Linked DNA regions of Homo sapiens: regions 2 and 3 are each linked to region 1. The links are contacts of gene promoters, found by promoter capture Hi-C in human tissues and cell types (Jung and others, 2019). All regions are on one chromosome and are shown on one strand. Each heading gives the region's core, a stretch centred on a gene start or on the middle of the fragment in contact. The rest is flanking DNA. Distances are from core to core; before and after follow the strand shown. Region 1 holds the start of PRR20A (proline rich 20A). Region 2 has its middle 120 kb from the start of PRR20A. Region 3 has its middle 81 kb from the start of PRR20E.

Evidence for each region. The method cuts DNA at HindIII sites, captures the fragments that hold promoters and counts their contacts. A contact is called where the count stands out against the background at its distance.
Region 2: a fragment that was not itself captured here is called in contact with the fragment with the promoter of PRR20A in region 1 in 4 of the 25 tissues and cell types used here (dorsolateral prefrontal cortex, mesendoderm cells, spleen and 1 more).
Region 3: a contact is called between a fragment that was not itself captured here and the fragment with the promoter of PRR20A in region 1, in 8 of the 25 tissues and cell types used here (bladder, dorsolateral prefrontal cortex, lymphoblastoid cells and 5 more).

Annotation. Positions count from the first base shown.
Region 1 is chr13:57,139,609-57,142,225 of GRCh38, reverse strand. PRR20A (proline rich 20A) reads right to left here and starts at 1,308. Exons shown (of 3, transcript NM_198441.2): 1 at 1,095-1,308; 2 at 870-940. The coding sequence starts at 921. The HindIII fragment of the contact is 47,953 bases long and covers 1-2,617 here.
Region 2 is chr13:57,017,746-57,020,362 of GRCh38, reverse strand. No RefSeq gene overlaps it. Among named protein-coding and RNA genes, the nearest start is that of PRR20A, 120 kb to the left of the region's middle. The HindIII fragment of the contact is 5,092 bases long and covers 1-2,617 here.
Region 3 is chr13:57,246,677-57,249,293 of GRCh38, reverse strand. No RefSeq gene overlaps it. Among named protein-coding and RNA genes, the nearest start is that of PRR20E, 81 kb to the right of the region's middle. The HindIII fragment of the contact is 6,474 bases long and covers 1-2,617 here.

The DNA.
Region 1 (2,617 bases), core at 59-2,558:
GGAGAATGAAGTTGAGAAGGTCTCCCACAGAACAAAGCAAAAACCTAAAATGATGGAAAGAAGGATGAAATATAAGAGAATTAGAGGTATGCTGTGGCTGAGACATTTCACCAGAAAATTTCAGAGTGCTGAGGAAAAAGAGAAGATTCTAACAGATTCTAGAGAGCGGGAGACAGAGAAAGGAAAAGTCACATGGAAAGGGCTAGGATTCCACATGTCTCAAAAGTCAGACATCTCAAAAGCAGCAGTTCAGTCTAGAACATAACAGAAAATGTCTTCGAAATTTCAAGGGAAATGAATTTCCCACCTAAAATTTCCTGTCCAACCGAAGTTTCGCTGAAGAATCTGGGAGGGGAGAATGAAGATGTTTCAGACAAGCAAGATGTTAAAGAATTTCCTTTCAGTGGATGCTTTATTGTTATGCATCTGTCAAACTAGACAAGATTAAAAGATTTAGGACACTCAGCGTATGAAGGGAAAAGTTTTGGAGAACAACGTGGCAACAGCCGGAAAATTCCAACTCCTCCGGGAAAGAACAAGGTGGAAGTACCGGTTTATCATAGATCAAGACGTAGCGTGAGGACTCGCTCTGCTACGGAGAAACAGTAATACAAAACTAAACAGAAGGAAACAGCGACAACAACAGCAAATCTCAGATTTGGGAAATGGGATTACGGTTCGGAAGAGGGAAAGGAATTTCCCAGATGATGTGGAACCCGGGAGCTGACTTCCAACAAGCAGCCCAGGTTGAGGCAGGCTAGGAGAAGGTGAAACAGAGAATGCTTGATTGAGTTTGAGTGTCAACCATTGGGGAAGAATTGGGGAACAGACGAAATTAAAAAGAGAGGAGTGGCAGGCGTTTGATGTACCTTGATTAGGGGCCATGGAGCGAAGTCGCTTCGAAGGCCTTGGTTCCTCCATGAGCAATCGGCGGGAGGGGCTGGGGAGAAAAACAAGAGAGCAAGAACGGATTTAGGAAGACAGAGGTGACAAGGCAGGGGGATGGCCGTGGCCTTTCTAGGGGAATGAGGATTCTGTCCCCAACTGCACCCACCCGAGATCCGTCCACGCCTCCGGGACCCCCAGACACACACCTGATCTTCCCACAGCTGGCTCCGGAGATCTGAAAATTAGGAGACTCTTCGACGAAGAGAGGCCCGAGGAGTCGGAGGTGTCCACAGGTTCACCGCTGTAGCTCTGAGGTAGTCCACCCGCAGCCAGGGAGTCTGGAGGGAGCACGCAGCAGGTTCTGGCTCCGAGCCCAGCAGAAAGCCGACTGCTGGAGGCCGAGCGCCGTCCCTCTTATATGGCAGCAAGGCAGTCGCGTAAGGGACAGGCGTCGTCAGAGGGGGGCCGGCTGGGGCGGGCCTGGCTGGGCTTGCGAGGCGCATTGGGCCAGTCCCCTGCCAGTCAAATGGGGGCCCTTCTGAGATGCCGCCATTTCTAGACGTCCGTGGTTGATTGATTAATCTAATCATCGAGGAAAAAAAATTGCATAATGACCTCTGAGTGTCAGCACAATGAGGTGTGGTGCCCTGAAAGCGGCTGACAGGAAGATGCGATTAGCTTAGATCTGAGCATGGTCAAGGAAAGCATCCAAAGCGGGGATATCTGGGCTGAAATCTGGAACATAACGTTTGAAATTAGTCATCCTGAACCGGGTTGGGAGAGGCAGGGAGGGAGGAAGGGGAGTGAAGAGAGTGTGCTGAGGCCCGGACTGGAAGGGAGCCCGGCACATTCTGGGAATGGACGGGAGGCCAAGTCCAGGCCCGGAGGTGGTGCGTGTGAGACGGGGCTGGAGATGCGTGTGAGACCCACACCGCTGGCTTTTATTGCTGTGGGTGCACTCACGGGTGGAGGAAGACAGCGGGAAACACAGCAGGACGCTGGAGGGGATCCCACAGTGGGTTATTTGGTTGGTTTGCATCCTTGTGTTTTTTACAGAGACTGGTTCTCGCTCTGTAGCCCAGGCTGGAGTGCAGCGGTGCCATCTCGGCTCGCTGCGGCTACTTGGGGGGGTTGGGGGGGGGTGGCTGAGATAGGAGAATCAGTTCAAGTGATTCTCCTGTCTCGGCCTCCGGAGTAGCTGGACTACAGGTGAGCGCCACCACATCGGGATAATTTTCGGATTTTTTTGGAGAGACGAGTTTTCGCTATGTGCCCAGGCTTGTTTGGAAGGCCTGAGCTCAAGCCGTCCGTCCCGCTCAACCTCCCGAGTCGCTGGGACCCCAGGCGCAAGCCACCATGCCGGGCCAATTACTTTTTTGGGTTGTATTTCCTGTTGAAGTGAGGTTTTGCTATGCTTTCACCTCACATACCTTTTCTGTCCCAAGACCCCATCCAGGGTACCACCTTACAACTCGTCACGGTTCCCCTTGGCTGCGACGGTTTCTCACACTTGCCTTGTTTTTGATGACTCTGACACTTTGAATACTGATCAGATATATTGTGGGATGTCCTCTCCTGAAGTTCGTGTGATGTATTCCTTGTGATCTGACTGGAATTATATGTTTTTGTCAGGAAGATTGCAGCGGGAAAGCGCCATTCCCATCCCATCCTGTCTAGAGTACACACCATCAAGCCGGCTTATCACTGCTGCTATTAGTCCTGGTCACCG
Region 2 (2,617 bases), core at 33-2,532, 120 kb after region 1:
TATTTAGATCATTGTTAACTTGGTGTCCTTGCTGAGGGAGATGACAGGTGAAGCTTTCTATTCTATCATCTTGCTCTGTCCCTATTCCACAAATATTTCATTCATTGTTTTCTATGTTGCTATTTTTGGACATGGGAATACTAAAATCTTTGAGATCTGATCTTTCTCTTAGGTAACTTAGAGCCTACTAGGGATGATACACATGTGTAATAAACAAATGAAATAAATTGTGTAAATATTAGAACAGAAGTACAGCATACTTGATATGGGTGGGTTACAGGCATGCTAGTGGTTTAAGTAAATAAAAATGCTGTCCTTCTCTCCTACAACCCGTTAATCTTTCATCACATACCTTGTTGCAGCTTCCCATTTGGCAAGACATAAAATTTAAGAAATGAAACTAGTACAGAGACTGAAGTTGCTCATGGAAGAGTCCAAAATGTAAACATTAAGACTTGAGCATAAACTGAGTTGAGACACCGGATCTATACATGTTAATTTCTTAGCAGCCTTACCTGAATGAATCAGGAGAGAAACTGATTTTGCTACAAGCAGTGGCATATTTAATATCAAGGATATACACGTATTTTTAAAAAGTGAGAGTTGGGGGGGCACATTAGAGAATAATTTTATTTCTGCCTCTAATGGAGAGGAACATAGAAGAAGTGATTTTTATTCTTTGTTACCTTGATTAACGCTCTGAATTCTTCTGAAGGTAAAAATAATGCATGTGATTTTTCCAATTTCTTGAAGTGCTTTTTGTTTGTTTCAATTCCTGTTTTACTTTGATTTTTGAATTCACATATCTCTAGTCATCCAAAACAAGTCTTACAAACATTGCTCAGATTTCCTGCATATAATCATTTTCTCCTCACAACTCTTCTCTTCTATATCTTGTGTACTAGGAACACTTCTTCAAACTAGGAAGCAACTTTCCATTCTCCTGATATGCAATGGGAATGGCTTCATTTAATGATTGCAACATATATGCCAAAATAATTTCCGATTGTCATCTAAAATAAACTGGTGGAATGATATTTTATTTTTCATATAAATCAGTACACCATTATGTTTTAAAATGTTTTATCAAGGAATAATGTTTAGTTTAGGTACCTGAGTTCATCTTTCTTAAAGGTAAATAGTACTTTATGATCTCTTACTGAATTTCAACATGGATATATAAATGTTACCTCATTAGTCTGTTTGCACAGTATCTGTGAGACACGGTAAGTATCAAAGGCCAGATTATAGTGCTGTAAAGAAGAACTGGGCTGGTTGCGGTGGCTCACGCCCATAATCCCAGCACTTTGAGAGTCCAAGGCGAGTGGATCACCCGAGGTCAGGAGTTCAAGACCAGTCTGGCCAACGTGGAGAATCCCTATCTCTACTAAAAATACATAAATTAGCTGGGCGTGGTGGCAGGTGCCTGTAATCCCAGCGACTCAGGAGGCTGAGGCAGGAGAACCACTTGAACCTGGGAGATGGAGGTTGAAGTGAGCTGAGATTGTGCCACTGCACTCCAGTCTGGGCAAAAGAGTGAGACTCCATCTCAAAAAAAAAAAAAAAGAAAAAAAGAAAGAAGGAGAAATGACATAAACAAATAAGGAGTAAAATTGACAAACGTCAGATAAACAGTGTTAGAATTTTTGTATATGAAAATGTGTCCTCTCTCACCACATTATGCCCTAAAACATTAGAAATGACTATCTTAATATTAAAAGTCATAATAATATAAATAGCTATAAATGTATTTATTTCTATTTCTTTAATGTCATTTTGCTATATGACCTCTATAGCAGCAGGTTGTACAGCAAGAATATTCTGTCTTTTATTAAATGCTTTACTTCATTTTGGCAAAGAAAACCAAGTGAAATTATAATTTTTAGAATAAAATTATTCTATATTATGCTATCAAAAATAACATTATTTTTAGAATAATTAGAATTTTCAGATATGTGAGCTTTATTGATCACAAGATTTTGTACACCTTTTTACTTTGAAAAAGTACATTTTAAAATCATTTTTCATTTTCATAATTCACTCTTGGAATGGAATTAAATGGTGTGATAATTTAACAGAGGATTATTTCCCTGCTTTTAGCTAGATAGTGCCAAAATTATTGGAGGATAATTTTTTATAAAAGATTTTTTTCAAACACCTTTAGAGAAGAAAATACTGTAACCTCTCTTGATAACACATTCTTGTGGCTTATGATACCCACAGTCAGGAAGTACTTACTTTTCTGCAATTTAAACTTATTCCCCCTTGTCCTATATTCAGTGAATGTAGAGGAAAAACTATTCAATACTACCGTACGAGACCTTTTTCATATAACCCCAAACTAATGATGAGTCTCTCCAAGCTTTCTCTTTCTTATGCTTGAATAAACTCACTTCCGCTTACCTATTCTTCATTACACACTTTCAGTAAAGTCTAATCTTTTTTTTTTTTCCCCACATGAAGGCCTACTCAAATTTCTTCAGATCACATATCAGCTTTTATTCAGGTTCTTAGTTCTAAGACATACCACTTGAGGATTTTTTTTTTCCCCGAAAGATTCACCTGTCTACCTTACAGACTAAGTTACTTTGAGAAGGTAAGAATAACACTGAGGAGA
Region 3 (2,617 bases), core at 41-2,540, 110 kb before region 1:
TCTGTTCATTCTGTTGATCATTATTTTTGCTGTGCAGAAACATTTTAGTTTAACTAGGTCCCATTTATCTATTTTTGATTTTGTTGCTTGTGCTGCTTTTGAGGTCTTAGTCATGAATTATTTACCTAGACCATTGTCCAGGAGAGTTTCCCTAGGTTTTCTTCTAGTATTTTTATAGTTTGGGGTCTTGAATTTGAGTCTTTAATCCACCTTGTGTTGAATTTATATATGGTGAGATATAGGGGTTCAGTTTCATTCTTCTGCATATGGCAATCAATTTTTCCAACACCATTTATTGAAAAGGGTATCCTTCCCCCAGTACATGTTCTTGCTGACTTTCTATTTTAATCACATGAGATTACAGAATAAATTCATTTTCTGATGGACAACAGCTTCAAGAAATAATTCCCATGGCTCCAATTCTATGAATTAGCTGGGGAATATTATTCCCCCGAACAAGTGTAAACCAAGAAAAGAGGGAACATCCTGCTCTATGAATGAGAAAGCAATGGGAAAGAGGAGGAGAAGAATGTGGAAAGAAAAGAAGAGAGAGAGGAGGATAGAAATGCTGCTAATGATACCTAATATTTCTTTAACATGTATTGCTAACTATAACAATATATAAATAAAAATATATAATTAATATTTAAAATAATTTTCTGCAATATGGATAAATCCCACATGTATAATATTAAATAGGAAAAGCTCACTGAAGAGAGTACAAACTGTTATTTGATTTTCTATAAAATTAAAAATCAGTCCAACCAACAAGGCAATCTTTATTCTATTCTAGTAAAGATTCTAAATTACAATAATACAAAGTAGATAATAAAACAATTAAAAGCCTATGTTTTCAATCCATAACTAGAGGACTGTGACTTTGTAAACACAGGGAGATATTCGTTTGTTTGTTTCCAGAAGGAAATTTTTAGGTCAAAATGAGGATTTGGCGTTCACAAAATTGCATATGCAAAGAAACAGGATAATTTTAAGAAGTATATATAAATCGCTTGCTCTTACTGGAAATCATTGCAAGTCTTTGGGTACCACTCCGTGAACCTAAATGATTACTCCTAATTTCATGAACCAATTTTCCAAACATTAAGAAAAAAAAATACTTTGTATGCTCACATTTTTCTGGACTCATTCTTGCTGTCATTAACATACCTACCCCTTCCAATTTTTACCCTCACTTGAAAGCTGTACAGTTTTTAACAATTCCCTATTCTTTTATTTCAAATACTGACCTTTGTATTTCAAAAGAAAATTCATAGTAGAGAAAGCTTTTTATTTCCTCACAAAGCAGAAGGCAAGTGATTGTTTAACATAAACTTTGAACATTTTTCTCTCTTAGTTCACATTTACTCTACTCACAGAAACTTATTGTTTTCTGAGTAAGAGGCTGTGATGAAGATGCTCCTCACAATTTAGAATAACCCTTTAACTGACTAATTTAGTTGTAGAGATAATTTCTTTTATTCTGCATTATTATACATATAAATTGTATTTTTAAAGTATTATTTTATTTGAAATGATGCATAATGTGCATATTTATGGGACTCAGTGTGATGTTTTGATATATATATATATACAATGTACAATGATCAAATTAAGGTAATTAGCATCTCCATCACCTCAAATATTTATCCGTTTATCATTTATTTGTAGTGAGAACATTAAAAATGTCTCATTTAGCTGTTTTAAAATACATGATATTATTAACTATAGTCACCTTTCTATGTCATGGAACACTAGAACATATTCCTCCTACGTAACTATAATTTTGTATCTGCTGAAGAACCTCTGCCTATTGCCTTCTCCCCCTTACACTTCCTAGCCCTTGGTAACTACTATTCTACTCTATACTTCCATGAGACCATCTTTTCTAAGATTCCACATATGAGTGAGATCATAAGATAACTACCTTATAGGTTTTCATAGTAGCCCATGTTATTTCTCATTTTATGAGTATCATGGGCTACTAGTGAGGTAAAAATGTCATTGTAAGAATGACTCATTACTGTATTTAATTGCATTAGACACAGCAATGATGCTGTTTTGACATATACATTTTATATAAAACAGAATTCATGCACCTTAAGTTTGTTGTAATTTACAAGAGATAAGCATATGACTTTGTCAGCCATGTATATATTTTTATTTCTGCAATGTTTAGTTGTCTCTTTAATGCACTTTTTGTGATTGTAGTTACCTTTTCTAATCTGTAAACACCTTAATGCCAATGTCGCTTTGATAATAATAGTAATAATTACCCAAAGTTGACAATATCTCTTCAAAATATAATTGTAAAAATGGAGAACAATGCATTAAAACTGTGTAGTCTTCATAATTCATATTTTCTTAACCATTCACATCCATCACCTCAGTTAAAGAACAATCTGTCCTTATAACTCTGTTGGAAATGTGCTTATATGTTTAGACAGATGGGTATGCCCTGAGGTTCATTTTCTAGCTTAAATGCACAATTGGCTTTATGCTCTTAAGAAGCAGCTGATGGAAAATAATTGTATATGCAAGAGCTTGTTTGGAATGTATCACGACGGAAACTCAATATGACAAATCATTCAATAGTCTTGACTCCTAAAAATAGATTTTG